Regions from separate parts of the Homo sapiens genome. Here regions 2, 3 and 4 are each linked to region 1. Evidence: promoter capture Hi-C in 16 types of primary human blood cells and fetal thymus (Javierre and others, 2016). All regions are on one chromosome and are shown on one strand. Each heading gives the region's core, a stretch centred on a gene start or on the middle of the fragment in contact. The rest is flanking DNA. Distances are from core to core; before and after follow the strand shown.

Region 1 (5,796 bases), core at 3,167-5,666:
TGAAAAACGGAGGTTGCAGTAAGCCGAGATCATGCCAGTGCACTCCAGCCTGGGCGACAGAGTGAGACTCCAACTCAAAAAAGAAAAACAAAACAACAACAACAACAACAAAACATGTTTTCAAATGCTATAAAGAACATGATTGGGTCAACAAACTAACTAGAAAACCGACAGCAGATAAGATCCAAGTATTGTATCAATGTTAAATTTCATTAGGTTGATGGCTGTACTAAGCCTATGTAAGACAATGTCTTTGGCTCTTAGAAAATATATACTGAAGTTCTCAGGGGTAAAGGGGATGGGGGACGACGTATGCAACTTACTCTCAAATAATTTGGCAAAAAATGCAGTAGTAAAGCAAATGTGACTAGAAGAAATGTTAACAATTGGTGAATCTGAGTAAAGGGTAAGAAAATTGTACAATTTTTGCATTTTTTATAAGATTAAAGTTATTTCTTTTTTTTATTCTTGTTTTCTTGAGATGGAGTCTCGCTCTGTTGCCCAGGCTGGAGTGCAGTGGTGTGATCTCGGCTCACTGTAACCTCCACCTCCCAGATTCTCCTGCCTCAGCCTCCTGAGTAGCTGGGATTACAGGCGCACGCCATCTCGCCCAGCTAATTTTTGTATTTTTAGTAGAGACGGAGTTTCACCATGTTGCTCAGGCTGGTCTCGAACTCCTGACCTCGTGATCCACCCACCTCGGCCTCCCAAAGTGCTAGGATTACAGGCGTGAGCCACCGCGCCTGGTGATTAAAGTTATTTCTAAGTAAAACATTTTTAATTGAAAAAGTTTAAAAATCAACACATTCAAAATTGTTCTAACAAAAATACTTAAGAGCATGTTGGGCCAACTTCCAGCAAGACTTTATGTGGAAAAATATAGGAACATATTAAAAAATTCTGCTAATAAAAACATATGCAGGACCAACTTTAAGCAAAATTTTAAATCAGCACCATCTAACAGAAATACAATGTGAGCCACATACATAGTATTAAATTTTCTAGGAACCATATTAGAGTGAAAAGAAACAAGTGAAATTAATTTTAATGTTTTATTTAGCCCATGTCTAAAGTATTGTTTCAATTTAGTCAATACAAAAATTGAGATTTTAATTCTTCTGTATTAAATCTTCAAAATCTGATGTGTATGTTACACTTCCAGTACATCTCAATTCAGAAGCTAAATTTTCATAGGAAATACTTGATCTACATTTAGATTTCATAAAATGTACAGTTTAAAAGTAAATTCGCATAACCAAATTATTTCAGTTAAAAGTTTTCCAACCACTGAATCAGATTTTAAATGTAAACTTAAATTAATTAAAATTAAATAAAATGAAAAATTCACTCCTCATTCACACTAGTCACCCTACAGACTCAATAACCACATGTGGCTTGTGGCTACACCCTGGGAAAGCCTGGCTTTAGATGGTAAAACAAATTCCCTCTACAAAAGGAGGAACTAATTGATAAAACTGAAGTTTATCGTATTTATCAAAAGATTTTTAAAACATAGTTATGATAAAAATAACGGGCCGGGCGCTGTGGCTCACGCCTGTAATCCCAGCACTTTGGGAGGCCGAGGCAGGTGGATCACCTGAGATCAGGTGTTCCAGACCAGCCTGGCCAACATGGTGAAACCCTGTCTCTACTAAAAATACAAAAATTAGCTGGGCGTGGTGGCAGGCGCCTGCAATCCCAGCTACTTGGGAGTCTGAGGCAGGAGAATCGCTTGAACTCGGAAGGCGGAAGTTGCAGTGAGCCCAGAGATCCCACCATTGCACTCCAGCCTGGGACAGAGCGAGACTCCGTATCAAAAAAAAAAAAAAAAAAAAGACGATATTCCTATCAGAAGCACACCAAGGTTTCTCTCCAAGGTACAATTACACATCTCCCATACCACCTGTCAGAAACACCAACACAAAGCCTTCTCTACTCTGCCTCAGTTGACATCCTTTAATTTGGGTTTGAGTTTCCAGAAAACTGGCAATCAAATGGCCTTCTTTCTTTCAAATGTGACAGAACAAACTCAAGTTCCGGTTCTCAGGAGCCTAGTCATCCACTGCACAGTATGCGGGGTTTCAGCACAATACTGTCTCAGTCCCAAATGGGAGCATGCACACAGGAGAACTTGTCTCGGATTTAAGAGAGGAAGTGACCCTGAGTCCAGAGGTGAGCTTTTTCTTTTTAAACAGGTGTAAGAGATTAATTCAGTCAACACCAAGCAACACTAAAGATTTGCCAATCAATAATTCTGTGCCAAGCAACTTGATCAGGGATTTGGCCAGAATCCCTTTCGCTAATCTCAATCAGGGCCTTCCCAAAGACATCCTGATTTAGGCCACTCTCATCTAAATTAAGCTTCGACAGTCCCTTGCCTGACAGCAAATAAACAAAATCAAATTATATTCATATGAATAAAATTCTGATAGCTTGACAAAAGGCCCCTTGAAAGATCATTTAGTAAGTGTGAGCAAAAATACAGCTCCAAAGAACAGGAGTTACCATAAAACCATTTTTCAGAAATGTTTAATTCCTACTTTCTTCAACCATACTTTTCAACTGAACAACGCTGTGGCTAACAATCAAATTTAACACACAACAATGAATTCTCATATTATTTTTTCCCGCTACACAAGTATTAACGAATTCTTTAAAACTGCTGAGTCTTCTACTGTGAATTCACTAATGCCTCAAATTAGTCATAGCAGTGGGAAGTGGAGTGCGAGTGTGAACGATGGTTTCTGACACCCGACCCACTAGTGAAGTCCCATCTTCCATACGAAAGCCTTTATTTTTTCTTCCCATCTCACTCACCTAGCTGTTTTCATGCGACATATCAGGGATCACAGATACAACTCTGACCATTGTGTGGACACACTGAAACAATCGCAATCCAAAATCCTCTGTAGATAAACGTTAACTATTTCTCTTTAAAGCTGAACTCCTTTCTTACCCTCACAGTCACAAAGCTTTAAACTGGATGAATACAAAGGTGTTAAGCCGTTCCATCAGAGAGGCTTTTTATTAGATTTATTTTTACCCGTGGAAATACTTGAACATTCTGTAGAAGTAAATATATTCTAAACCTGAGGTCTTTAAAAGAAAGCTCTCAATTAATGCCCAATCAAATCCAGTCTTCAGGTCTCTCTGAAATTAGCTAAGTATGCAGAAACCAGTTGTAATTTTTAAAAGAGCGAAGAGGGAGAAGAAATAAACGACACCAGAACTACACATTCCAGACCAGCAGTTCAAGCACCACTTCGAGAAGGGAAGTAAAGATCAAGCTCGCCGTCTCCCTCGGCCACAGCAGGGCTCCTCCAAGGCTGCCCGCTCCGGCCCGCACCGCGGACCCCGCCGCCCCCGCCCCCTCCCGCGGCCTCCCCAACCCCCGGCCCTGCCGCTTCGCCTTTCTCGCAGCGGGGATGCTCAGGGTGCGACCTCGAAGCACAACCACTGATGGAATTCTGACACCCGAAGAGGACGATTTTTCCAACAGTTTACACGCCTTCGCGGGCACCTTCCCTACTCACTGAAACCCTCACGAAAGCGGTCAACGCACCCAGAGCGGGTTTCCTCGGTCTACGGACGCAGGCAAACAGCGCCACTTAAAAAATGCGCGTCCGCGACCCGGCCCCAGGCGGCAGAGGGAGCAGCGGGCGGCCTGGCGCGGGAGCTCCCCCGGGGCTCGCAGCATCCCTGCCGCGCGCGAAGGCCGGGGCCGCGTCCACCTGGCAACAAAGGCGAAGCCCGCCGCTCGCAGGTGGGAGGCCCGGAGCCGAGGCCCCGGTGCCGCGCGAGGGAGCGTACGGGGTCCGCGCGGGGCCGCCCCTGGAGAAAGCCCAGCCGCGGACTCCGGCGGGAGAGGAGCGCCCTGGCATTGTCCCGGGGGAGGGCGGGGCGGGCGCCCGGGGGCACTGGGTCCCCGGAGGAGGTGGCGGCGCCGCGGGCGGGTTGGGGGCTGGGTCGGCCGAGGCGGACGGCCGCCCCCAGCAGCCCCGACGCCTTTCATTTGGCCTCTGCGGCGGCTGAGGCAGCCCGACCTCCAGCGCTAAGCACTGCGCCAAGCAGGGACGGGCGGGGGAGGGCGCGCCAGACCCGCCGCAGAGCCGGACCCCCGGCGCCGCACCGCCGGCCCGCCCTGCCGCGGACCCCGCTGCCCGCCCGCAGTCCGCGCTCCTCCGGCGGGCGAAGGAGACGACTCTCCGGCGTTCGCCCGGTCCCCACCTCGATGTAGCCGGCCAGCGCCAAGGCAGGCGCCGTGAGCCCCACCAGCAGCAGAAGCAGGAGCCTGCCCGTGGCTGCGGCGGCCGCGGTCCCGGTGGCCGCCATCCCTCGCCGGGTCGCTCTAGCGCGCGGCTCTCAAGCTCACACACTCGGACTCCTCGCTTAGCACACCGCGACCCAGAAGCATCTAAAGCCAGTTCGCCGCCGCCCCGGGGGTTTTACACCAACCGGAACTGACTTCATATTACCACGCCCTCCTTCTGCGGCTCCCAATGCCGGCCCGCAGAACCCCTCAAGACCCCGCCCCCTTGCGGTCCAGACCCAATCAGGAGATGGAAGAGCCTGCTCCTCCCGCCCGGTCCAACCGCGCGCCCCCCGCCCGGCCCCGCCCCCGGCCGCGGATGGCCCCGCCCCCGCTCCGGACCCTGTGGCCGCCAGGCGCGGGGGCGTGCGCGCGGCGGGTCTGGGGCCGCAACCCTGTGGGCGCGGGGCTGGCTCTGGCCTCCGCCCCCCGGCGCGGTTATCTGTCCCTGCTGCGCTGGTCCGTCAGCCTTCAGCCTCCCGATACGGGCACGCCCCGCTCCCCTGCCCCTGCTGGGCATTCTTCAGACTCCTTTGGGTACCGCCCTCTTTTTGATTCTGGAAATGGTTTTATTAAAAACAGGATGAATTAGGAGTCCGGGACGGTCTGCCAAGGGCCGTCCCCCGAGGCAGGGGGAGGACCGCAGGAGGCAGCCATCGTCCTCCCCCGAGCCCTACTCAGGGCGCGCCTCTCCCGCCCTGCTCCGCCCAGGCCTCTCCGCCGGGTCCTCGCCTCTGAGTCCGGCCGCGCTCCGCACCCTTGGCCTCCGGTCTTTAGGCCTCTTGCCGACCCTTCCTTCCCAGCAGTTGCCCAGGCAGGGATAGAGACCAGGGGTGCAAGAACCACGCCGGCCTCACAGCCCAGGCCCCCTTCCTCGTGTGTTTTAGGAAGAGATCACGCCGCTTCTTCGGTTGAGACGCACTAGCGGGAGACCTGCTACTCTGCCTTCCTGCTCCGCGGCATTGCCACTTCAGTAGAGAAAAACGTCCTGCTGCCCCATTTAGCAATTGGCACAGCCTCGCCACCGCCAGGGCTCCGCTGGCCTTGTTTCCTTTCAGTCGCCTGTGAGTTAGGTACTGCCTTCTGAGAGACCTGGACTAGTCCCTTCAGGTTCAACTAAATGCATAACACAACCCTACCCCCAGGACGCTGACAATAGAAAGGAAGAGACTGTCCGCGGAGTAGACGAGTGCGCCTGTAAGAACTCGGGATTTTCCAGCCTTATTCTGCACCACTCTCCCCTACATGCCCAGTTCCCTGTGGGTAAACTGGCTCTGCCCGATTCCTCCAAGACGACACCTTTCCATTTCACAGCCCTTCCTAACACTCTTCTGCGCCTGCAATGTCCTCTCCCCAACATCTGCCTGTTGGAAGCGTTTTCACTGTTCCTCGGCTCAGTCGGCTGAAATATCGCTTCTGATTGCTCAGAGGGATGTTTCCCACTGTGGCACTCGCTCCCTAGTTATTCCATACCTCTCTCAGGTCAC
Region 2 (5,279 bases), core at 2,389-4,888, 290 kb after region 1:
TCTGTAAATTGAGCACTGAAGTAAAAGTACAACAAGGTTTTTTAAGACACTAATCTGTTCTTTAGCAAAATATGTAAATGGTTATAAAAGGTTTGTGAAAATGTCATCTCCTGGTCAAACTGGTTAAGGTTGGATAGAATCATCTATAAGGTTTCATTAAAAATTGGGGTTAGGCCAGGCGCGGTGGCTCACTTTGGGAGGCCAAGGCGGGTAGCTCATCTGAGGTCAGGAGTTCGAGACCAGCCTGGCCAACATGATGAAATCCCGTCTCTACTAAAAATACAAAAGTTAGCCGGGCGTGATGCCTTGTGCCTGTAGTCCCAGCTACTTGGGAGGCTGAGGCAAGAGAATTGCTTGAACCCAGGAGGTGGCGGTTGCAGTGAGACAAGATCGTGCCATTGCACTCCAACCTGGGCAACAGAGCAAGACTCCATCTCAAAAAAAATAAAAATAAAAATGAAAATTGGAGTTAACATCAATAGTAGACTAATGCAAGGGTAAAATTGAACTTTCTCTCTTGAACAGGATTTTCATGTAATAGTAAAAGCTGATGAATGTTTTTTGCTTTTTCAAAACTTTGACCCATCATTTTGGCAAAACAAATAACTTACGATAATCTAAAATTCTGTTTCATAATATTAAGTGCTTTGAAACTCTAACATATTTAACAGGCTTCCCCAAATCAAACTTCAGCCTCAAGGTTTTCTTTCCTGACCCCTAGCTTTTTGGTGCTACAGAGGGCCCCTGGAGCACCCAGAAGAGAGGTAAAGAACATTATTTGACATGTTTAGGTACATGGAATTGCCAAAACGAAGTCTAATCTTCTTCAAGTTATATGTTAGGAATAATACTAACACACATTCAGAGCCAATCTGAAAGGCCTAAGTAAAAATAATTATTCTTGCTGTACTTTATGCAAAAAATCAAACCAGGTATAAGACTAAAGTTTATTTTGCAAACAACTCAGTCCTATCACAATCTGTTTTTAATAAAAATAAGGACTGAAGGGACAGAAATTGTTTCAAAACTTATCACACAGCTGTCATTAATTTCTAGTCTCATTAGTTGTTTTTAAGTTCTTGCCTATATTTTAAACAAACCTTGCTTATTCCTGTAAACCAATCAGCGATCTCAAGCTGCAGCTCAGAGGAGACAGAAAGGGATGGGCAATGTAAAAATCTGGAACAATATTCCAGTTCTGGGCAATTATACTACAAACCTGCCAGGTAATAAGAATAAATAGAGTACCCGTAACCCAGAGGTTTCCTTTTTGGGAAAGTGCGACCAAGAAAGGTAACCAAAGCCAAGTTCAAGCACCCAAATCTTAACAGGCATAACTGTAGCCACCAGTTATCAGAGCATGACAGCAGCCTCGGGATTTTTTAAAGCTGTCCTTATCCACCTTGTCTTGTTTTAATACACGTCCTCTAATAACTCAAATTGTTTCTTTTTGCCTAGAGGCTATCAAGCTCCAAATGGTAATGCAAATGGAACCATGCATAAATGTATCTTTCTTCTGGGGACCCTTAAACCAGCCCTGGGAAAATCCTAGCTGCTGTTACCCACACAATGCCCCTCTCCAGTGGGAAGTAGCTAGAAAAATCAACACCCGGTCTCCCTAGCAGCAGTTAAGGGTTCCACTCCTCAAGGTGGGGATGAGGGAGAAGGAATGGAAAAATTAGTTGGGTAAACAACTAACAGACTAGTCCTTGGAGAAGCTGCCTGTCTGAAAAATTGTGACGCTGCCTGCCTGAAAAATCACAGCTACAGGCAAAAATAGAGCAGCCTGGAAAAAATTCAGACTGCAGGTGTACAGATAAGCCACAGATAAACAGGTAAGGCAGGCACAGTCCAGCACAGAGGCTGTTTTTGTTCTTTGTATGATTAGCGAGCTCCCAGGAAAAAGTTTCTCCCCTTTTCAGACATGTACATGGTGGGCTCCAAGGGAACTTGCCCAGGGGGGAAGGGGGCTTACTTAAACCCACACTTACACAAACAAAAAGCTGTACTTTGTGCTTACCTACAGACATACCCACAACTGTATAGATAAGGGGAGTTATGCAGACAGTTTTATAGATAAGTTACTCAAACGGTTACGGAGATGAGAGCAGTTTCTTATAAAAGCTTTTGAATTCAACTGTAACCTGGCCACCATCCGGGACCCCTCTCCTCTGTGGAGAGCTTTCTTCTTTTGCTTATTAAATTTTTGCTCCAACCTCACCCTTTGTGTCCATGCTCTTTAATTTTCTTGGTTGTGAGACCACGAGCTCAGATAATACCTTAGACAAAGAGAACAGTGACCCTGACCTGTTTCAGGAGGGTGGATGTGCACCCCATTACCCTGGCTCCCACCAGTAGCAGCCCATGAACTGTGTCCCATGCTTCCCAGGCAAGATCGTGTCAGCCAGCAGGCCGACTGCATGCCAAGCACCTGAGACCTGCTCTGCTGCCGAGGCCTGACTTCTGGGACCACTTTCCAGAATTTGCTCATCACCTATTCCTGAGGATGCTACTCTCAAGCCCCACAGGGCCCACATGGCTGCGACTTTTCTGAGAATTGGCCCTGCTAGTGGATATAACTGCCACTAATGCCACTGTCCCTTCACTTGTACCCCGGATGTAACTGTATTCAGCTCAGGTGCCTTCATCAGCAGGAGCACTGTAAGCGTAATTTATTAAAAGTGAAACAATTGTACAAGCAGTTAATCAACCACCACAGGGCATAATTAATGAAGCAGCCTTCCCCTCCCCACCCCCATTGATTTTGTGAAACTCCCTTTTTCTTTCAGCTTGATCAAGTATTCCAAATTTAGAAAGCTCTAAGGTGGCCTACAGAAAAAGAAAAAGGCCACATAAGGTCCCTCTCACTTTCAGTAAATAGCAGCATATAAATACAAGAAAAAATAGATATTGTCTTGTGCAGCATTAAAAAATCAAAATAAAATAAATATGAGCAAAAATGGGTTTCTTGTATGTAGTCTATAATTGTTTAGTACATTTATAACTAATATCAAGATTACCAATATGCTTTGGTTACAATGCGTCGTCTTGATATTTGTTTTCTATTCATTGCATTTGTTCCTTGGTCCTTTTTGTTTTCATCTCCTTTCCATTTTCTCTCAGGTAAGCTTCTGACCCCACCCACCTGTTTTTAATGTTTTCAGCCCCCATGCGAATAACTGTTACTACTGGAACATACTAGGTTGGGTTCTGTTCTCTTCTAAACAAAATTTAGCAAAAGGCACAGTGATTTCCCATATTCACCTGCACCCACACATGCATGGCCTCCCCACGACCAGCAACCCCTACCAAAATGGCCTATTTGTTGCAACTGATGAACCTTTATTGACATAGTTGACATTAGGGTTCACCGTTGGTGCTGTACATTCTATGGGGTTGAACACATGTATAATGACATGCATCCACTATTTCAGTGTCATACAGAGTAGTTTCACTGCCCTAAAAATCCTGTGTCCCACCTTCACCCTTCCTTCCACTCCAATCATTGGCAACCATTGATCTTTTTCCTGTCTTAATAGTTTTGCCTTTACGGAATGTCATGTAGTTGGAATCATACAGTATGTAGCCTTTTCAGACTGATTTCTTTCACTTAGTAATTTGCATTTAAGTTTCTTTCGTGTCGCTTCATGGCTTGATAATTTCATTTTAGTGCTGAATGATACCCTTTTGTCTGGATGTATCTGGTTTATTTATGCATTTAACTGTTAGAGGTCATCTTGGTTTCTTCTAATATTTCCCAGTTAGGAATAAAGTTAGGTTCTATAAGTATCCATGTGTAGGTAATTGTGTGGACATAAGTTTTCAAGTCCTTTGGGTAAATACCAAGGAGTGTGCTGGTTGGATTGTATGGTAAGGGTATGTTTAGTTTTGTAAGAAGCCTCCAAAGTATCTTCCAAAGTAGCTGTACCATTTTGCATTTCCACCAGCAATGAGAGTTCTTGTTGCTACAGATCCTCACCAGTGTTTGGTGGTGTCAGTATTCTGAATTTTGGGCATTTTAATTGGTGTTAGTAGTATCTCATCATCATTTTAATTTGTATTTCCATGGTAACACAGGATGTAGAATATCTTTTCATATGTTTGTTTGCTATTTGTTTATCTTCTTTGGTGAGGTTCTGTTAAGCTTGCTGGCCCATTTAAAAAATTGGGTTTCTCGTTATCTTATTTTTGAGTTTTAAAGAATTCTTTGTATATTGGGGATAACAGTCCTTTATCAATTATGTCTTTTGCAAATATTTTCTCCCAAAGGCTTGTCTTTTCATTCTCTTGACAGTGTCCTTTGCTGAGCAGAAGTTGTTACTTTTAATGAAGTCCAACTTATCAGTTCTTTCTTTCATAGATCATGACTTTGGTGTCACAACTAAAAAGTTATTGCTAAACCCAAGCTCACCTAGATTTTGTCCTATTACCTTCTAGGAGCGTTATAGGTCTGTGTTTTATATTTAGGTCTGCGATTCATTTTGAGTTAATTTTTGTGAAGGGTGTAAGGTCTGTGTCTGGATTCTTTTTTTTTTTAAATGTGGATGTCTATTATAACAAACATTCTATTTTTCTTCAACGTATTGCCTTTGTTCTTTGACAAAGATCAGTTGACTATATTTATGTGCGTCAATTTCTGGACTCTATTGTGTTCCATTGATCTATTGATTTATTCTTTTGCAAATACCACATTGTCTTAATTATCGTAGATTTAGAGTAAGTCTTCGAGTCAGGTGTGTCAGTCCTCCAACTTTGTTCTTCTCTTTCAATATTGAATTGGCTATTAAGTGTGCTTTGGCTCTGCATATAAAATTTAGAATACTCTGTTGATATCTGTGAAATAAACTTGCTGGGATTTTGACAGGGATTGCATTGGAATCTATAGATCAAGTTGGGAAGAACAGACATCCTAAAAATATTGAGTCCTTGTATTCATGAACATCAATTGTCTATCCGTTTATTTAGTTTTTCTTTGATTTCTTTCATCAGGGTTTTATAGTTTGCCTTACATAGATCTTGTGCATATTTTGTTAAATTTATAACTAAGTATTTCATTTTACAGGGTGCTAATTTAAATGGTATTATGTGTTTTAGAATACGTGCTGCCAAAGTGAGCACATAAATGGTATTATGTTTTTCAGTTTTCACTTGTTCATTGTTGATATAAAGAAAAGTGATTGGCTGGGCGCGGTGGCTCATGCCTGTAATCCGAGCACTTTGGGAGGCCGAGGCAGGCAGATCACAAGGTCAGGAATTCGAGACCAGCCTGGCCAATATGG
Region 3 (5,515 bases), core at 1,638-4,137, 270 kb after region 1:
TCCCTTTACCTTAAGTTTATGTGAGTTTTTATGTGTTAGGTGAGTCTCTTGAAGGCAGCAGATAGTTGGTTGGTGTATTTTTATCCATTCTGCCATTCTGTATCTTCTAAGTGGAGCATTTGGGCCATTTACATTCAATGTTAGTATTGAGATGTGAGGTACTGATGTTCTATTCATCGTATTAGTTGTTGCCTTAATACCTTGTTTTTTTCCCCACTGTATTATTGTTTTATAGGCCCTGTGAGATTTATGATTTAAGGAGGTTCTATTAATATTTTGGTGTATTTTGAGCTTTTGTTTTAAGATTTAGAGCTCATTTAAGCATTTCTTGTAGTGCTGGTTTAGTGGTGACAAATTCTGTCAGCATTTGTTTGTCTGAAAAAAGACTTTATCTTTCCTTCATTTATGAAGCTTAGTTTTACTGAATACAAAATTCTTGGCTGAAAATTATTTTGTTTCAGGAGGCTAAAGATGGGTCCCCAGTACCTTCTGGCTTATCAGGTTTCTGCTGAGAAGTCTGAAAAGTTTTCCTACACAGGCTACCTAATACTTTTGCCTCACAGCTCGTAAGATCCTTTCCTTAACATTCTTGACTTTAGACAACCTGATGATTATGTGCTTAGGTGATGATCTTTTTGTGATGAATTTCCCAGGTGTTCCTTGAGCTTCTTGTATTTGGATGCCTAGATCTCTAGCAAGACCAGGGAAGTTTTCTCAATTATTCCCTCAAACAAGTTTTCCAGATTTTTAGATTTCACTTCTTCCTCAGGAACATCAGTTATTCTTAGGTTTAGCTGTTGGGAGGGTTTGTTCATTTTTAACTTCTTTTTTTCTTTGTCTTCGTCTGATTGGGTTAATTCAGAAGCCTTGTCTTTGAGGTCTGAAGTTCTTTCTTCTACTTGCTCTAGTCTATTGTTGACCTTTCCAATGCATTTTGTGTTTCTTTAAGTGTATCTTTCATTTCCAGAAGTGATTTTTTTCATTGTGACATCATTTCTCTGGAGAATTTTTCATTCATATCCTGTATTGCTTTTTAAATTTCTTTAAGTTGGTTTTCACCTTTCTCTGGCATTTCCTTGAGTAGCTTAATAATCACCCTTCTGAGTTCTTTATCTGGCAATTCAGAGATTTCTTCTTGGCTTGCATCCATTGCTGGGGAGCTGGTGTGATCATTGGGGGTATTATAGAGCCCTGTTTTGTCATATTACCAGAATTGCTTTTCTGTTCTTTTCTCATTTGGGTAGACTATTTCAGTGAAGAAATCTGAAACTCAAGGCCTGCTGTTCAGATTCTCTTATCCCATGGTGTGATCCTTAGATGTGGTGCTCTTCCCTTTCCCCTAGGACTGGGGCTTCCTAAGAGCTGGACTATAGTGATTCTTACTGCTCTTCTAGGCCTAGCCACCCAGTGGAGCTACCAGGCTATGTGCTGGTGCTGGGGAATGTCTGCAGAGTTCTGTGATGTGGTCTTTCTTCAGGTCTCCCATCCTTGGATCGCAGCACCTTCTCTGGTGGAGGTGGCAGGGGAGTGAGGTAGACTCTATGAAAGTCCTTGGTTGTAGATATGTTTAGTGTGCTGGCTTTCTGTAATGCTGGTTACACTAGTGGTAAAGTTGTCACATGAACACACACAGGACCTTTGGTTAGCCAGGATGTTTCAGGAAGTGGAATTAGGTGTTGTCTTTTCCTTCCTGGGATCAGGGTTATTCTGTCATGAGTTACTGTGGTGGCCTGAGTTGGTTGGCCTCTAGCCAGGAGATGGTGCTTTCAAGAGAGCACCAGCTGCAGTAGTCGTAGGGGGCTCTAAGCTTGCCCTAAGATGGTCAGGGTAAGTATTTTGGATACTCAGGTGATTGGCAGGGCCATAAAGCTCCCAAGAGTTTCTGAGTTTTGTGTTCAACTACCAGGGCAAGTAGGAAAATACCATCAGGTTGGGGCAGAGTTAAGAGGGTCTAGGCTCAGATTCTCCTTGGGTGGGGCTTGCTGCAGCCACTGTGAGTGATGGAGGATAGTTCTCAGGCCAATGGGGTTATGTTCCCAAGAGGATTTTGGCTACCTCCACTGTATCATATAGTTTGCCAGGGTAGTAGGAGATAGCTGGTAGCAAGAGGCCTGACCCAGCTCCCACACCATTGGTCAGGCCAGCCTCTCTTCTGCAGTGGACCATTCAGACCTTGCCCCAGGCTGTGAGCTTACCCCACTGAGAAAGCAAGCACGGCTTTCAGACCTCGCCTCTCTCCATCTGCCTACTTCATTGGCAGCACCTTGTATCCACAACACCTCCCACTCATCACCTGGACTCCACTCAAGAAAATTTGTGCCCAGTTGAAACCACTACCAATTTCACTTGGGAGGTTTCTTCACCCTGTGGCCCTTCCCCAATTCCACTGGCTGCCTTCCTTGAGGGCCTCTGTAAGATATACTCAGGGATGGCTTCCCTGGGGTTGAGCTGGAGACTTGGAGTACATCCAAGGCACTTCCCAATGCTACTTCTACTTTTCTACTTTGTGTGAATCCCTAAATCCATTTAATCTCTAGGTAAGGTTAAATTCTTCTCCTGTGATCTGGATTTTCGGATTCCCCAGTGGGGATGTGTATTCAGAGGTAAGTTTTCCCTTTCTCACACTTTGGGAACTCACAGTTTTTTTGCCTGTTTCATGAAATTTGCATTGGCGTGCTGCTTCTTTCAAAGGCTCTGTGAATTTTTTCGCTTTTCCTGGTATGTTCCTGCCATGGTTCTTAGAGCAAAAGATCATGGTGTGAGTCTCCACATGCTGTTCTGTCCATCCATGTGGGAGCTGCACATTAGCTCTGTCTCCTAGCTTCCATTTTCCCTGATTTTAATTTTTTTTTTTAAATAGAGATGAGGTCTCCCTATGTTGCCCAGGATGGTCTCAAACTCCTGAACTGAATTGATCCTTCTGCCTTGGCCTCCCTAAGTGCTGGCATTATAGGTGTGAGCCACTGCACCTGGGTGACAAACCAGTTTTGAAAAAGTAAGTCTGACTGTTTAGGTTCGTTTTACAGGTCAAGTTAATCTTCAATCAAGTAGTTAAAAGGTAAATTACTAATAATCAATTATAGAATAATACAATAATACCAGTTAATTATTACCAAGTTGTTTTAGTATAATAGTGGGACAGATTAGTGGGTTTCTTTTTATAATCTTTTTATTCATTTACACCGAGGGAATATAGCATCTTTCATCCAAAGAACTGAACATTTAATCCAAAGAACTGAACATTTTAAAACATGAGCATTTAAAAAGCGATTATATTTTGAAAACCTGGAGTCTTGCTGTTAAATCTCTTTGATTCCAGATACACAATTTTCTGGAAGTCATTATATTAGGGACAATGAAAGAGGCTCAGAAAGAATTCTGATTTCCTTTCACAATACAGTCATTTCCCAAAACCTAGTGCTGGGCTTGCAAAGCAAAAACACACAAATCTTACAAAGCAAAAACACACAGATTTTCCTTGCAGTGACCAATATTGCAAGAAAAATTAGTGTTCTTAAATGAATGTAATTATATGTGGAACTTAGCAAAGGCAAGGATGGCATTTTAATTCAATGGGAAGTGGTTTATGTGTTGCTAGTATAATTGACTATTATTTTGGAAGATCTTATCATAGAGTTTCTCATTATCTAATCTCTCCTTGGCCATCCTGGTGCTAGCCATCCAGAATAAGTATTATTATTTTTTCCAGCTAATATGGTTTGGCTCTGTGTCCCCAGCCAAATCTCATGTTGAACTGTAATCCTCAGTCTTGGGGGAGGGACCTGGTGGGAGGTGATTGGCTCATGAGGCAGATTTCCCACTGCTGTTCCCATGATCATGAGTGAGTTCCCACGAAATCTGGTTGTTTAAAAGTGTGCAGCACTTCTCCCTTTGCTCTCTCTCTCCTGCCGCAATGCGAAGACATGCTCATTTATCCTCCACCCTTCTGCCATGATTGTAAGCTTCCTGAGGCCTCCCGAACCATGCCTCCTGTATAGCCTGTGGAACTGTGAGTCTATTAAAACTCTTTTCTTTATAAATTACCTAGTCTGAGGTAGTTCTTTATAGCTGTGTGAGAACTGACTAACACAGAAAACTCATACCAGGAGAATTGGGGCATTATTATAAAGATACCTGAAAATGTGGAAGCAATTTTGAAACTGGGTAACAGACAGAGATTGGAACACTTTGGAGGGCTCAGAAGAAGACAGGAAGATGAGGGAAAGTTTGGAACTTCTTAGAGACTTGTTGATTGGTTTTGACCACAATGCTGATAGTTATATGGACAACGAAGTCCAGGCTGAGATGGTCTCTGATGGAGATGAGGGACTTACTGGGAAGTGAAGCAAAGGTCACTGTTGCTATGCTTTAGAAAGAGACTGGCAGCATTGTGCCCTTGCTCTAAGGATCTGTGGAACTGTGAACTTGAGATGATTTAGGGTATCTGCTGAAAGAAATTAATAAGCATCAAAGCATTCAAGAGGTGGTCTGGCTGCTTCTAAAAGCCTATGTTCATTTGCATAAGCAAATGAGAAGAGAAGCAGAGCATATTTAAAAGAGAAGCAGAGCATAAAAGTTTGGAAAATTTTCAGCCTGACCATGTTGTAGGAAAGAAAAACCCATTTTCTTGGGAGAAATTCAAGCCTGCTGCAGAAATGTGCATAAGTAAAGAGAAGCCAAATGTTAATAGCCAAGACAACGGGGAAAGTGCCTCCAGGGCACTTCAGAGACCTTCATGGCAGCCCCTCCCATCACAGGCCTGGAGGCCTAGGAGGGAAAAATGGTTTTGTGCACCAGGTCCAGGGCCCCACTGCTCTGTGCAGCCTTGGGACATGACGCCCTGTGTCCCAGCCACTCCAGCTCCAGCCTTGGCTAAAGGGTCCAAAGTATAGCATGGGCCATTGCTTTAGAGGGTGCAAGCCCCAAGCCTTGGTGGCTTCTGTGTGGCATTGGGCTTCCAGGTGCACAGAAGGCAAGAGTTGAGGTTTGAGAGCCTCTGCCTAGATTTCAGAGGATGTATAGAAATGCCTGGATATCCAGACAGAAGTCTGCTGCAGGGGCAGCGTCTTCATGGAGAACCTCTACTAGGGCAGTGCAGAAGGAAAATGTGGAGTTGGAGCTCCCACACTGTTTCCCCACTGGGGCACTGCCTAGTGGAGCTGTGAGAAGATGGCCACCGTCCTCCAGATCCCAGAATGGTAGATCCACCAACAGCTTGCACTGTGTGCCTGGAAAAGCCACAGGCCTACTCAATGCCAACTCTTGAGAGCAACTGTGGGAGCTGAGCCCTGCAGAGTTACATGAGCATAGCTGCCTAAGGCCTTGGGAGCCCACCCCTTGCATTAGTGTGCCCTGGATGTGAGACATGGAGTCAAAGGAGATTATTTTGGAGCTCTAAAATTTAATGACTTCTCTGCTGGGTTTTGGACTTGCATGGGACCTGTAGCTCCTTTGTTTTGGCCAATTTCTATCTTTTGGAGCAGGAGCACTTACCCAATGACTGTATCCCCATTGT
Region 4 (5,965 bases), core at 2,068-4,567, 320 kb after region 1:
GGCCGCAGGGCGGCCTCGGCAGAAGGTGAGTGCTGGCAGCCCGTGGCCCGAGACGTTAAGCACTGCGGGGAGAAAAGGAGAAAGAAGCTCCTCGAACTTTAGGCCCACTCCGGTGTGTGAGGAGCCCGGCCGAGAGCTGAGAGCAGCCTGGTCTTCCCTTCTCGGTGAGGCTTGCGCACTTGCCTCCCTTGCTGCTTCCAGAGTCATAGCCCCGGCCAGTCCTCCAAGGGCCCGCGTTCCACCATGGCCAGACATTCCCTTTGAGAGTCTGCAAAGCTTGTTTTCTCTCGGAGAATTCTAGGCAATGCAGGTCAAAGAAAGGATTTTGAATCAAGTCCTCGGCTACGTCAGATGGAAGTGCTTACAAGAGCTGCATTAATGGAATAATTCTTTTACTCCATGATCTGACTCCTGTCTACGTCTTTAATATTTTATTTTATTTTCATTTTTTTTTAGAGTCAGAGTCTCTCTCTGTCGCCCAGGCTGGAGTGCAGTGGCACAATCACTGCGCACTGTAGCCTTAACCTCCTGCGCTCAAGCAATCCTCCCACCTCAGCCTCCTGAGTGGCTGGGACCACAGGTGTGCCACCACATCCATGTCCAGTGTTCATTCTCACTATTTTCCCCGACGCCTGCTGTTGCTTTTTTATACTACTTGCAGTTCCTCGCAATGTTGCAGAAGCACTGCCTCCTCCGTGATGGCCTTTGGGTTCGTCTAACTCTTCCTTCATGGTTTGTCCCCTTTATAGAATCAATAGCGCCTATCCCAGAAATCCAAAATTTTCACTGCACTTGAGACTATTTACTTATCCATCTCTGTCTTCTGGGCTGTCATCTCATTGAGTTCATATTCACCTTTGAATCTCCAGCATGCAGCCTGAGGACTGGAGGTCGCACTTAGTAGGTGTTCACTGAGTGAATAAAGGAAGGATAAAAACACTCTTCACTTTGCATTTAGGGAAAAAATAGATAATACAGAGATTTCCATCAAAACCAAACCAAGCCAATGTCTCTTGGAACCACACTGACAGTTTATGCCTTGGACAACTGGTGTGATGGTTTATGGTTTCTTCATTGTTGCTATGTATGTCTGTGAACGTATTTGTCTTTTAAATTACTTACTGGAGCAAGAAGTTCACTTTTACTTCATAAGGTAGATCCTTGAAACAGTCACTACTTTTAAAATAAAGTCTTCCCCTGTCCTCCTTGAAAGGTTCTTCTCGGGCTGCGTGTTGCAAGATCCTTCCTTGCAAGGCAGTCGATGCTGTCTTATCCCCTCCCCTGGAGCAGAACTGGGGTTACCTCTGGTAGCTTTGGACGTGGCCATCCAGGGTTGGTTTTGTAGAGATGAGACTCAGAGACATCAAATAATCTTTCCTTTACTCAGCATTGGAAGATTTCAAAGAAAGTATGTGCAGGAGGCAGAAGGTGGGGTCAGGATTGTTTAAATTTGGGGAGCTGCTTTTCTAGGGCAGTGAGAATTCTCTTGCTGGGTGGAGTTTGGTGCATGCAGCTGGGCTGGGGGTCGCTCCCAGCAGGGAACTCCTAAGTGCCAGCCCAGGCTCTCTGACCTGGGGCTAGTCTCCATTGGCAAATGCCACCCTCTGTCTCCCATCATCTCTCCCCTCATCTATGAAGAGGCAGGAAGGAGCTCTGGGAGGTGGGAGAGAGCAGAGGCCACAGTCAGTGTCCTCTGGACATGTTGATAGCTAGAAGCAGAGCTGAGGCCCTGGGGACAGACACCTTGTCCTTATGCTGAAGAGACCCTTTTTTAGCGGTCATTGCAAGTTGAGTTGGGATAAGGATTCTAGGTCTGGTTTATTTTTTTCTGGAAAGTATATACTTCCTCCGTTTCTCTGGCCTGATTACTGCCCACATGCCACCAGGGGATAGCTGTCCTTCTGCAGTAGTGGGAGACATGGAAGATCATGGACTCTGGAGCTGGACTCTCTGGGTTCAGATCCTGGCTTTGCCTCTTAGTAGCTGTGTGACTTTGGGCCATTCAGGTAACATCTCTGTGCCTAAATCACCTGTTCTGTAAGGTGGGTTCACCTCATAAGGCAGCTGTGAAAATTAAGCAGATTAGCACATGTTAAATGCCGATGACAGCACCAGCATGTAACCAGTATGCAGAGGACATGAGCTCTTACTGTGCCTGCCTTCTCCTTTCCCCAGCCCTCTCCCTTCAAGGTGGTCCCTGTTCATCTCAACAGGTACTCATTGGTGCCCCTGTACCCAGCACCATGACAGGCACTGAGGGGGATACAAGGAAGCTTAGACGTGGTTTCCATTCTCAAGAGGCTTATGATATGGGGACATGGAGACAAAAGCAAAGTAATAAAAATAAAAAACAGGGGAGGGAGTGGGGAAAGAATTGAAAAACTTCCTATTGGGTACTGTGTTCACTACTTGGGTGAAAGGATCGTTAGAAACCCAAACCTCAGTATCATGAAGATACTCATGGAACAAACCCACACATGTACCTCTTGAACCTAAAATAAAAATAGAGGCCGGGTGCAGTGGCTCCCACCTCTAATCCTAGCACTTTGGGAGGCAGGGGTGGGTAGATCACTTGAGGCCAGGAGTTCGAGACCAGCCTGGCCAACATGGTGAAACCCTGTCTCTACTAAAAATACAAAACTTAGGTGTGGTGGCTCACGCCTGTAACCCCAGCTACTCAGGAGGCTGAGGCACAAGAATCACTTGAACCAGGGAGGCACAGGTTGCAGTCAGCCAAGATCACACCACTGCACTCCAGCCTGGGTGACAGAGCAAGACTCTGTCTCAAAGATTAAAAAAAAAAAAAAAAGCAACTTTGTTAAAATATATGCCACTAATATATAAGTGTCATAGGAGTTCAAAAGAAGGAGACAGGGGGATGTGAGTGGCTTCATGAAAGAAGCCAAACTTGATTTGGGCCCGAAAGGGGGCAGAATATGGAGAACGGATTTTATGACTTTCCCCCCCACTATCTACAACTCTCTGAATTGTTCTGGCTTCTAAATCAAGATGGCAAAAACAATTGTCACCGCTCAGCTCAGGGAAATTCTCATGATGCCAGTTTACCTGGCAAGTTATACACAGGCTTAGGCCACTGCTGCCTTTGAAACTGTAGGAAAAATGCAAAACGTTCAAGGGCTGTCCCATTCCTCTGAATAAATACCCCTAAAGCAAGTGGTCCGACTCTGGGGTTGAGCTTCCCCCAGGCTTCGATGTCTGCCTGCGCTGTGGCTGTAGATGACTGACTTCCAGCCCAGTACATTCCACTGCTCTGAGCTGCTCCTGTTTCCCTCCAGAAGTCTGCAAAGCATTAAGCACTATATTTAACTCCAGCCTAAAAGAAAAATGCCTGCCTCTGAGCATCCAGACAGGAGAAAGGATTTTCACCTCCGAGGACACACAGTCATTGTTCACCTTGAAGCCATGGACACACAGGCCCGGAATGTTCATCCCCTCCTGGCTCTAGCTTTAGCTTTTGGGTGGGCTCAAGAAAGTGGAGGCCATTTTGATGACACTCAGTAGGTTAAGACCCCACACGTGGGAAGTTGGCTGGCTGAGTGGGGCTTTGTGCACAGCCTTGTGTAGTTAACCATTAACGGCTCATGAGAATCATCTGAGGAGCCTGTGGAAGTTGCAGATGGTGGGATCCGTGCTCAGCGGTTCTGAGTCCATCGGTCTGCGATGATGCCCAGGGATCTGTGTCTTTAACACACAAGCCAGGGGATTCTGGCGAGGGTGATCTTGGACTAGACGTGGTAGAGAACAGTTAGCTGGAGCTATTGGCGACTTTGTCAAAAGAGGCAAAGGAAGGAAAAAAGGTGGAAGCTGAAGCAGGGGGAGTGATTTTGAATGGTTTATGAACTGAATGACGAGGACACAAATTAAGGCAAATCATTAATTACATCATAGCCTCAAGAAGGCCCAGAGCAGGGATTTACAGCCCCATTCAAAGAAGAACTCAGCTTTGGAGTCATCAACGCAGGGAAGCTGAGGCTGGGGACCACGACGGGTGATGACCTGGGACCAACCCTGTTTCACCCAGAACACCTTCACTTTGATCTATTTTTATATACATGGGTTCCATGTAGGATGTCATTTGAAAACTGGCCACTGCTAAAAGAAGTTAAAAAGAAATCATTAACCTAGAGATTAAGTGTTTGGAAAACCTTAATCTCCCTGGGTGACTGGCGGAGCGGTGTTCTATTAGGTCTAGATCGTTTTATCTGCAAGAGCAGGATGACTTTGGACAGAATGCTTGTGCATAGGCCTTTTGGCTCTTCGTGTTCTTTTCTCCCTTTTAGCCAGTTCTCCTCTAATTTTTCTGTGATCTAGATCCATTTGAGAATCCTGTGAAAGCTTTGGACCTTTCCTGAGGAAAATGCACCTAGGCACACACCTATACACATTGGCATTCAATTTTGGTGGGGGTTATGGGCTCTGTGAAGCCCATCTGTACCCTTGGTGATCACACCCCCCTCTCAACTGTTAACTATTTATTTTATAGCGGTACCACGGTTATTCTTTGCTTCAAGTCTTTCAACTAGACTGCAAGCCTCTTGAGTCTAGAAACTGTGTCCTTTACAATGGCGGTCTAAAACGGGAAGGACAAGATGATCCGTTGCAGCATAAGAAGGAAGTTTTAGAACTTCTACTTATTTTTAATATTATCCCTTTTCAGTTTCTATTTTTCTATATTTCTATAATGCTCTCCTTGTATTAAAATAGTCCTTCATCTTCTCCTTCTCCTCCCCCTCCTTCCTCGTCTTATTATTATTTTGAGACAGAGTCTCTGTTGCCAGGCTGGAGTGCTGTGGTCCTATCTCGGCTCACTGCAACTTCTGCGTCCTGGGTTCAAGCGATTCTTCTGCCTCAGCCTCCCGAGTAGCTGGGATTACAGGCATGCACCAGCACGCCCAGCTAATTTTTGTATTTTTAGTAGAGTCAGGGTTTCACCACGTTGGCCAGGATGGTCTCGATCTCATGACCACGTGATCTGCCTGCCTTGGCCTCCCAAAGTGCTGGGATTACAGGCGTGAGCCACCGTGCCTGGCCGAATAGCTCATATCATTTAAATAAATATACATATTCTGAAGGTGCCATGTTAAAAACTTACTGATAATGATAACATGATTCAGAAAGCTTGGAGTACTCTGCTTTACAGAATTTTTTTTTTGACACTCATGCTGAGCATTTTGCTAGGTGTTGGAGATTAAAAAAATGATGTAGTTTCTACTCTCAGGGAACTTAACAGTTTAATTTTGCACATAGTAGGTTTTTTGTTTTGAATGGAGGAGCTGAGATTTGAGTCTGGCTTATTTGACTCCAAGTCAGTAACTGGATGATGAGTTAATTCTTCCAAGGTGGGTCATGCGCTGCATATTTAGGAAGCCACTGCCTCTGGGAAAACCACCCCACAGAATATGCTCCCACTTGGTATGAAATGTGAAGACAGGGTCGCTGATCTTATCATCCTTAGGTAGAGTCGCTAGTTAGCAGTGGTTCTGGAATTCTTACATGGCAGCTGCTCAAGAGTGGCACTTTCATTAGAAGGACGAAGCTTGAGACTGAGGTTGAATGCACTCTTGCACAGCAACCCACCACGATTACTTAGATTTTGTTGATTTGCTGTGGTCTTAGGGACATGATGGAGACTATGGGGTAGAAATTGGGTACAGTTATCTCAAGCCATTTCTTTCTTTCTTTTTTTTTTTTTTGAGACGGAGTCTCCCTCTGTCGCCCAGGCTGGAGTGCAATGGCACGATCTCGGCTCACTGCAACCTCTGCCTCCTGGGTTCAAGCGATTCTCCTGCCTCAGCCTCCTTAGTAGCTGGGATTACAGGCGTGTGCCACCACGCCCAGCTAGTTTTTGTATTATTAGTAGAGACGAGGTTTCACCATGTTGGCCAGGCTGGTCTCGAACTCCTGACCTCAGGTGATCCGCCCACCCCGGCCTCCCAAAGTGCGG

The links. The method cuts DNA at HindIII sites, captures the fragments that hold promoters and counts their contacts. A CHiCAGO score of 5 or more calls a contact.
Region 2: a fragment that was not itself captured here is called in contact with the fragment with the promoter of APLP2 in region 1 in 4 of 17 cell types (naive CD4 T cells, non-activated CD4 T cells, total CD4 T cells and 1 more); the score reaches 6.6 in naive CD4 T cells.
Region 3: a fragment that was not itself captured here is called in contact with the fragment with the promoter of APLP2 in region 1 in 3 of 17 cell types (naive CD4 T cells, total CD4 T cells and non-activated CD4 T cells); the score reaches 7.1 in naive CD4 T cells.
Region 4: a fragment that was not itself captured here is called in contact with the fragment with the promoter of APLP2 in region 1 in 1 of 17 cell types (non-activated CD4 T cells); the score reaches 6.7 in non-activated CD4 T cells.

Annotation. Positions count from the first base shown.
Region 1 is chr11:130,068,514-130,074,309 of GRCh38, reverse strand. APLP2 (amyloid beta precursor like protein 2) reads right to left here and starts at 4,416. Exons shown (of 17, transcript NM_001142276.2): 1 at 4,228-4,416. The coding sequence starts at 4,332. LOC107984432 (a long non-coding RNA gene) reads left to right here and starts at 4,661. Exons shown (of 2, transcript XR_001748444.2): 1 at 4,661-4,846; 2 at 5,197-5,796. RefSeq lists silencers at 3,528-3,987, 4,058-4,187, 4,578-4,807 and enhancers at 4,724-5,224, 5,225-5,725. The HindIII fragment of the contact is 4,769 bases long and covers 2,975-5,796 here.
Region 2 is chr11:129,776,204-129,781,482 of GRCh38, reverse strand. The region is part of intron 1 of LOC124902793 (a long non-coding RNA gene); the gene reads left to right. Among named protein-coding and RNA genes, the nearest start is that of TMEM45B, 37 kb to the left of the region's middle. The HindIII fragment of the contact is 1,016 bases long and covers 3,131-4,146 here.
Region 3 is chr11:129,794,555-129,800,069 of GRCh38, reverse strand. The region is part of intron 1 of LOC124902793 (a long non-coding RNA gene); the gene reads left to right. Among named protein-coding and RNA genes, the nearest start is that of TMEM45B, 19 kb to the left of the region's middle. The HindIII fragment of the contact is 2,155 bases long and covers 1,810-3,964 here.
Region 4 is chr11:129,744,650-129,750,614 of GRCh38, reverse strand. No RefSeq gene overlaps it. Among named protein-coding and RNA genes, the nearest start is that of TMEM45B, 68 kb to the left of the region's middle. RefSeq lists enhancers at 1-69, 70-571. The HindIII fragment of the contact is 2,083 bases long and covers 2,276-4,358 here.